Linked DNA regions of Homo sapiens: regions 1 and 3 are each linked to region 2. The links are contacts of gene promoters, found by promoter capture Hi-C in human tissues and cell types (Jung and others, 2019). All regions are on one chromosome and are shown on one strand. Each heading gives the region's core, a stretch centred on a gene start or on the middle of the fragment in contact. The rest is flanking DNA. Distances are from core to core; before and after follow the strand shown. Region 1 holds the start of SWSAP1 (SWIM-type zinc finger 7 associated protein 1). Region 2 holds the start of ZNF823 (zinc finger protein 823). Region 3 has its middle 12 kb from the start of ZNF20.

Region 1 (2,700 bases), core at 2-2,501, 360 kb before region 2:
TCATAGTTGCGTGTTTTGCAAGAGAAAGGGTGTGGGGGATGAATGTGGGACAGAGTTTGTATGGGATGCTTTGTGTCAGGATAGGGCAAGGTTGGAGCATGTGGATGATGGGGATTCTGAAAGTAGAATATATTCAGAGATGCCATGGTGTGTGTGTGTGTGTGTGTGTGTGTGTAGAGGGGTGTGAGTGAGCCCAGCTGTGTGAGTGGGTGTGTTGGGGGATGTCGTGGAGCTGTTTTCTGGTCCCAGAGGGAGAGAGAAAGCCCAGGAAATCTCACTTTCTCCCTGCCCCTGGGTCTCCAGGCAACGGCACCACTTTGGAGTTACCAGGAGACAAGGTTGCCAGGGCAACACAGGCGTGAGTGGCAGCTCTGGGGCGAAGTCTGGGTGAGAAGATCCAGCCAGGGATCACGATCATTCACTTTGTTCCTCCCTTTCTCCCTGTTTCTCATCAATCCCACCTCCCTTCCTTCATTGTCTTAACGAGCACGTATTTGAGAACCTACAAATGTGCTAGGTGCTATTCTCGGTACTGGAGAACAGAAGTGAACAAGACAATGTCCCTGCTGTATCTCTCCTTCAGTCTTCCAGCTCCTGTCTCTTTATCTCTCCTGCTTCCTTCTTTGTCCTGCGGTCCTGCCTTCCCCCCGTACCACAAAGGCGGCCCCACAGAACCCCTTAGCCAGTGAGGAAGTAAGTTGAGAGGCTTCATCTCACAGACTTTCGGGGATGGCCGTTGATGTTTTGTCCACGAGCCTGTGTCCCCAGACACACACTCCGGCCCATACTCAGGTGCACAGAAAGACAAGCACACAGCTCATCCCCCTCTCCAAAACTCTCAGTTGTCATTGGATGACATCAGCAAAACCACACACAAATACATGCCGATCACAATACTCCTCTGAGATATCATAAGCCCCATTTTACAGCAGGGCAAACTGAGGCTAGGAGCCTTTAAATAATATGTCACTCATTCTGGTCTACTCCTCCAACTTTCAACCCTTATATTTGTCTGATTAGCTGACAATAATAGTATTCGTGCTGGTTCCCCCAGCAGCCTCCCTCAGGGAAGGGTCTTATTTCCCTCGAATGCACCCATTCCTCCGCATAGGTTCTAACCATTTGCCCATTCACCTGAGGAATCGAGTTTTGATGGACAGATTCCTAGACCAATAGAGAAACTAAGTGAACTGTACCGATGCGGCCACGGCTTGGGCGGGACTAAGGCTGGGAACGAGCCACCGATTGGTCAGAGCTACGCGGCGAATGGCGGAGACGCTGAGGCGGGTGCTAACCAGGGGCGGTGCGGCCTGGTCCGGGGAGGAGAACATGCCTGCCGCCGGACCGCCTTTGCTGCTGCTCGGTACACCAGGATCTGGAAAAACAGCGCTGCTATTTGCTGCGGCCCTAGAGGCGGCGGGGGAGGGCCAAGGCCCAGTCCTCTTCCTGACACGAAGGCCTCTTCAAAGCATGCCCCGCGGGACCGGAACGACTCTAGACCCAATGCGACTCCAGGTAACCGTGGGGGTGGGAGCAGAGGCGTTCTAGCCAATGGTGGAGTAGATCCGGGATATTGAGTAACAGGTAGACAAGCCAATGGAGAGGACGGTGGAAGAGCGAGCCAGGGCAGCCACGATGGGGCGGAGTCAGGCAGGCGGAGTGAGGAGTGGCACCACGCGGAGCTTAGTTAAGATTGAAGTGAGAGCCCATCCAATGATGGGCGGTGTTAGCAAGAGGCGGTGCCCAGAGATTGAAGTCCGGCCCATCAAGGGGCGGGGCTAAGCTTGGGTCCATTCTGGACCTGAGTTGGTTCCTGTTAGTGTCAAGGATGGGGTCAGACCGAGAATGCTGGGGGAGGGTTTTCCGTGGAAAAATTGCGCTAGAGATTTGGCCAAAAACAAACAAGCAAAAATGGCTTGCCCTCAACTAATACTCGGCAGTGATGAGTGCTGGAAAAACGGGCGAATATAAGAATATTTAACAGCTCTGAACTGGTTCATCCTGGAACCAAGGAAAGTATGCAAGGAGGCAGGGTTACTTTTAAGGAGTCTGGCTTCCTGTGCTGAATCCGGCCCTTTCCTTCTGTTTCTCCTTCTAGAAGATCCGCTTCCAGTACCCACCCTCAACCCGAGAGCTTTTCCGGCTCCTGTGCTCTGCCCATGAGGCCCCGGGGCCAGCCCCCTCCCTTCTGCTGCTCGACGGCCTAGAAGAGTACCTAGCGGAAGACCCAGAGCCCCAGGAAGCCGCCTACCTCATTGCCTTACTTCTAGACACAGCTGCCCACTTCAGCCACCGGCTTGGGCCTGGCCGGGATTGTGGGCTCATGGTGGCCCTCCAGACCCAGGAGGAAGCAGGTAGTGGGGACGTCCTGCACCTGGCACTGCTCCAGCGGTATTTTCCTGCCCAGTGCTGGCTGCAGCCAGATGCACCAGGTCCAGGAGAGCACGGCCTCCGAGCCTGCCTGGAGCCAGGCGGGCTGGGCCCCAGAACAGAGTGGTGGGTGACTTTCCGATCAGATGGAGAAATGATGATCGCTCCGTGGCCCACCCAGGCTGGTGACCCCAGCTCAGGCAAGGGTTCAAGCTCTGGAGGCCAGCCCTGAGCTTTGGTGGGTGACTACCTCTCTGTGCTTCAGTTTCCCATGGCTGGAATACTTACCTCAGGGACATATGCAGATCCAAAGACCTAAACAATGTAAAG
Region 2 (2,700 bases), core at 44-2,543:
TTTTAAAAAGAGCCATACATTGCTATGTGAAAAGAAAGTGACAATTAAAATAATGCCTCTGTTTGAAATATTGCCTGAGGGACAAAGAGTTCATAAAGTTGCTGGGAATTGATGAGAGACAGTTAGCCTGGGGAAGGCTCTGAAAACCAAGAGATTTGCTGCCAGCCCTAGGAGGAGTTAGGATGAGGGGATAGGGTGGTGGATTTGAGACCCTGCTGCCCACATCTTTGGAAGACTCGGAGGGAAACCGGTCACCTTTGGGAAGAAAGAAGGGACTGGGGAACCCACAGATCACAGCTTCTCTTCCAAAGCACAAAGCCCACACACACGAGTCTGGATTCTGCCTGGTGACCCTCCGTTGTCACCGTGCAGCGTCCTCACCGGGTTCACAGGAACTGCGAGCCAGGCTGGAGGCGAGATTGCAGTTAGATATTAACCAGGTGCCCTCAGCCCCGCTGCCTCACGGGGCCGCCTCCCTGAGAGTCAGGTCACAGCAGACGCTGACCGCCGGCTTCCTCATCGTGCCCGGGGATAAGATCTCTTGAGAGTTGCTCACGGGTCGCCTCAGTTCTTTCTCGGATCCTGAATTGCAGCGGAAAGGCTGGCGCCAACCAGGCTGAAGACCCCACAAGGGAACCCACTCAGCAGAATGCGGTTTCTTCACCTCCAGTCCCAGGAGTCACCTCTCACTTCTCCACCAACCAGCGACCCCACACTCCAGCCGTCCCTGTCCACACCTCTAAACACCCCATCCCCAAACCTCTCAGGGAGGCGGATCTGGGGTGTCCTCCCCTCTCCCCCATTAAACTGTTTCTGCTGCAGCCTTCGGCGTCTCGGTGCAGTGACTCGGGCCGTGAACCTGTGCCGGTTACAACTGCACAATCTGGGGAGACGCGGAGCTGCGGGCGCGGAGCTGCCCAGAGAGGGCGCCGGGGCCGGGGCCGCAGCGGCCGAGCAGGGACGGGACAGGACGCCCGGGGTCCCGGCTGCCGCCCCAGCCCCATCTTGCGGCCCAGGGGACCAAGGGCAGAGCTGCGCCAGGGGCACTGGGATTTGCAGACCCCGGAGTCGCCCAGGGCGAGGCCCGGGTCCCCTCACGGTCGGTTCCGGCCGGTTCCAACCTGCCCCTTCTTTGCCTCGGGACGCCGGGCCCCGCACACTCACCATTTCCCAGCTTCCAGGTGTCCGGGTGTCCTCCTTAAAAGCCAGTGTGGGTCCCAGCGCGACAGACGCTGATACAGACCTTCCAGGGCGTCTCTCTCTCAGCGCCAGAGCCAGGACTCAGAGCGCAGGGGCGTGGAGAAGACTCCGCGGGCTCTTTGAACGTCGCACCCTCCTCCCTGCAGCGTGCCTGATTGACAGTTCTCACAATCCCCGCCCCCTCATCCCTGATTGGATAGTGCTCCAGGTCCCGCCCCTTGGTGGCTGATTGACAGAAGAAGCGATCTCACAGTGCTGAGTGGAGCCGGATGAACAGGTTCCAGGCACGACCCTTGGCAAGGCGGGCTTCCTCCCAACGGAGTGACCTGACCCCTCCCGAAGTGACGTTTGCATTTTAGAATTTCCTGATTGTATTCAGTGGGTTCTTCCTGCTTTTTCCTCCTGGACAGGGACTCACAAGTGTGTGCAGGGAATTCCAGGCTCCCTGTCCAGTGGAGCCATTCCCGGACCTCGGAGCAGGAGGGGAGCCCGGGGCACACAGGCCACCCTGCAGCAGGAGGGAGGGCCTGATGTCCTCCAGGGATCAGGAATTTGGGATGAGGCTGTTGGCGACGTTGCCAAGCCTTTCCCTCACCTTATCTCTCAATCTACTCATTTTCAGCCCAGAAGATAAAAACAGGACAACAAAATAAAATAGTTGAGTATGTGGAAAAACTGGAATTATATGGCAGCAATATTTCATAAAGAATCAAAAGAGAAGAAAAGCAAAAACTTGAACAAGCTCAGAGAAGCAGCCTACTGCACTCACAGTTCACAAGCAGACCCCCTTTCAGGAGGTCAAACATATCCCCAAGCTGGGAAGCCAGGCAATGATTCCTAAAATGGAGCTCCGGGGTGGATCAGAAGCTGGTGATAAGGGAGGGACAATTAAGAATTTTACTCTGAGGTCTCAAAATACCTGTCCCCTCTGCACAGCGTGGAAATGCTCCCTCCTTATGCCATTAAATGTTAATGAATTAAACGCTCCAATCAAAAGCCAAGACATCACACTTTGAATTTGAAAACATTAGCCTTTCTCCATATGTTTATGAAGTAAAAATACTAGACTTAAAAGCGTTATGGCCGGGCGCGGTGGCTCACGCCTGTAATCCCAGCACTTTGGGAGGCTGAGGCGGGTGGATCACCTGAGGTCGGGAGTTTGAGACCAGCCTGACAAACATGATGAAACCCCGTTTCTACTAAAAACGCAAAATTAGCCGGGTGTGGTGGCACGCTCCTGTAATCCCGGCTCCTCAGGAAGCTGAGGCAGGAGTATCGCTTGAACCCGGCAGGCAGAGGTTGCAGTGAGCCGACATCACACCACTGCACTCCAGCCTGGGCAACAGAGCGAGGAAAAAAAAAAACTCCATCTCAAAAAAAAAAAAAAAAAAGCGTTATGAACTAGAAGCTGGTAGCCATGGCTAAATAGAAAGGAGCTGAACATGAGATGTCAATAGATGAAATGAAATCTTCAATCAACTTCTAGAAACTATAGCATTT
Region 3 (2,700 bases), core at 135-2,634, 390 kb after region 2:
ACTCTACTCTACTGTATTTATGTTATGTTATGTTGTTATGTTATGTTATGTTATGTTATGTTATGTTATGTTATGTTATGTTATGTTATTTTAGAGACAAGGTCTTGCTCTGTTGCCCAGGCTGGAGTGCAGTGTTGCAGTCTCAGCTCACTGCAACCTCTGCCTCCCAGGTTCAAGTGATTCTCCTGCTTCAGCCTCCCGAGTAGCTGGGATTACAGGTGGCCACCACCCCAGCCGGCTAATTTTTGTACTTTTAGTAGAGACAGGGTTTCACTATGTTGGCCAGGCTGGTCTAGAACTCCTGACCTCAAGTGATCCGCCCGCCTTGGCCTCCCAAAGTGCTGGGATTATAGGCATAAGCCGCCGTGCCTGGCCCCTGAAATACTTTTTAATATAGGGTGTAAGCCAGGCGCGGTGGCTCACATCTGTAATACAAATACAAATACAAAAATTAACCAGGTGTGGTAGTGCGTGCCTGTAATCCCAGCTACTCGGGAGGCTGAGGCAGGAGAATTGCTTGAACCCAGCAGGTGAAGGTTGCAGTGAGCTGAGATCGCACCACTGCACTCAAGCCTGGCGACAGAGCGAGACTCTGTCTCAAAAAAAAAAAAAGTGTGTAACAGTTGGTGAAAAGGTTCAAAAAAAAAAAGAAAAGAAAAGAAAGGTGACACTTAAATTTACATGACTTTTTTTTTTTTTTTTTTGAGACAGCGTCTTGCTCTGTCACCCAGGCTGGAGTGCAGTGGCACAATCTTGGCTCAATGCAAGCTCTGCCTCCCAGGTTCATGCCATTCTCCTGCCTCAGCCTCCTGAGTAGCTGGGACTACGGGCGCCCGCCACCACGCCCGGCTAATTTTTTGTATTTTTAGTAGAGACAGGGTTTCACCATGTTAGCCAGGATGGTCTCGATCTCCTGACCTCGTGATCTGTCTACCTTGGCCTCCCAAAGTGCTGGGATAACAGGCGTGAGCCACCGCACCCAGCCTACATGACTTAACTTTTTACCTTGTTAAACAGAGAGCAATCAACCCTGTGAACGTTATGTTCCAGATTCTGACAAGTGTGTTGAAAAAATTCTACACACTAAATGAAATAGGAGTAATGGGTGAGAGAGTGTGACCTTGAGTTTCAAGTTGGGGTAAGGGGGGCGGAAAAGAAGACAGTGTCTTGAGGTGGTGACATCTGTAGTGAGATCTGAAATGACGTGTTAGTATATGAAGTCAGGAAAGAGGATTCTGGGAAGATGGCAGAATAGGAAGTATCAAGCAGAAACTACAGGAAGCCATTTTTGTGAACTGAGTTCCTCTGCTGGGCCCTCAGAAACCAGACCTACCCCAGCGATTAGGAAATTACACCTAGGCAATCGTCATTGCCCCACACGCTACAAAGAACGTTCAGTAGACAATGGCTTGAGAAATGCGCCCAGTCCAATCTTTGGGTAAGCCAGGTGCAGAGATGTACAAAAAGACTGTCCTTGGCAAAGTTCTATGGTCACATGATGTTTGAGGCAGTTCTGCATATCATATGAGGGCCTTATTGGAGTTCTTGTGTATCTCTGCCAAGAGAGTACTGCACAGCAGAGGTCATTATTGCAACTTCCGTGCCATTTATTTATTTTGAGACAGAGTCTTGCTCTTTTGCCAGGCTGAAGTGCAGTGGCACGATCTCAGCTCACTGCAGTCTCTGCCTCCCGGGTTCAAGGGATTCCTCTGCCTCAGCCTCCTGAGTAGCTGGGACTATAGGAGCCCGCCACCACGCCCGGCTAATTTTTTGTATTTTAGTAGAGACAGGTTTCACCATGTTGGCCAGAATGGTCTCAATCTCCTGACTTCATGATCCGCCCGCCTCGGCCTCCCAAAGTGCCGGGATTACAGGCATGAGCCACTGCACCCAGCCACTTCTGTGCCATTTAATTGTTCACCAGTTGCCACAGGTCTATCTGTGTACACCTGAGTTGCTTGAGTGGTTCTAAACAAATGAATTTAACTTTCATTGTGGTGTTGAATTTTTGTATATACCTTTTATGAATTATTTTGACCGTGGGCTGACCAATATCATGAGTAAAAGATTTAAAAGGTCTAGAGGAGCCAGGCATGTTGGCTCATGCCTATAATCCCAGCACTTTGGGAGGCCGAGGCAGATGGATCGCTTGAGGCCAGGAGTTTAGAGACCAGTCTGGCCAACATGGTGAAACTCCAATTCTACAAAAAACACAAAAATTAACTGGGCATGGTGGTGTTCGCCTGTAGTGCCAGCTACTTGGGAGGTTGTGACGAGACTTGCTTGAACCTGGGAAGCAGAGGTTGCAGTGAGCTGAGATCGTGCCACTGCAATTCAGCCTAGGCAACAGAGCGACACTCTGTCTCAAAAAAAAAAAAAAAAAAGCCATAGGTAGGAAGCAAAATGTAAATAATGAGAAAAATATATATCTTAAGTTCACATTTGAAATATGTAAGAAAATTTGGTGATGCTGCAAATAAACTGAGGATTGTAATTATATAAATTACAAGTTTTTCCTGAGAAAAAACACATTTTCAACCTAAGTACATTGATCTTAAAGGATTTTTCCTTTGCTTTTTGACCTTGCTTTGTGAAAAAGTGCAAAAATAAGACATGAATAGTCAAAATAAGAATTTTTGGGCCAGGCGTGGTGGCTCACACTTATAATCCCAGCACTTTGGGAGGCCGAGGTGGGCGGAT

The links. The method cuts DNA at HindIII sites, captures the fragments that hold promoters and counts their contacts. A contact is called where the count stands out against the background at its distance.
Region 1: a contact is called between the fragment with the promoter of SWSAP1 here and the fragment with the promoter of ZNF823 in region 2, in 1 of the 25 tissues and cell types used here (pancreas).
Region 3: a fragment that was not itself captured here is called in contact with the fragment with the promoter of ZNF823 in region 2 in 4 of the 25 tissues and cell types used here (dorsolateral prefrontal cortex, lymphoblastoid cells, mesendoderm cells and 1 more).

The regions. Positions count from the first base shown.
Region 1 is chr19:11,373,415-11,376,114 of GRCh38, forward strand. SWSAP1 (SWIM-type zinc finger 7 associated protein 1) reads left to right here and starts at 1,252. Exons shown (of 2, transcript NM_175871.4): 1 at 1,252-1,515; 2 at 2,099-2,700. The coding sequence starts at 1,267. The coding sequence ends at 2,602. RefSeq lists a silencer at 1,082-1,161 and enhancers at 1,262-1,331, 1,552-1,601, 1,832-1,911, 1,932-1,981. The HindIII fragment of the contact is 10,471 bases long and covers 1-2,700 here.
Region 2 is chr19:11,737,653-11,740,352 of GRCh38, forward strand. It overlaps ZNF823 (zinc finger protein 823), which reads right to left and starts at 1,294. Exons shown (of 4, transcript NM_001080493.4): 1 at 1,165-1,294. The coding sequence starts at 1,167. RefSeq lists enhancers at 668-797, 1,188-1,267 and silencers at 868-1,017, 1,278-1,472. The HindIII fragment of the contact is 18,648 bases long and covers 1-2,700 here.
Region 3 is chr19:12,126,980-12,129,679 of GRCh38, forward strand. No RefSeq gene overlaps it. Among named protein-coding and RNA genes, the nearest start is that of ZNF20, 12 kb to the right of the region's middle. The HindIII fragment of the contact is 9,523 bases long and covers 1-2,700 here.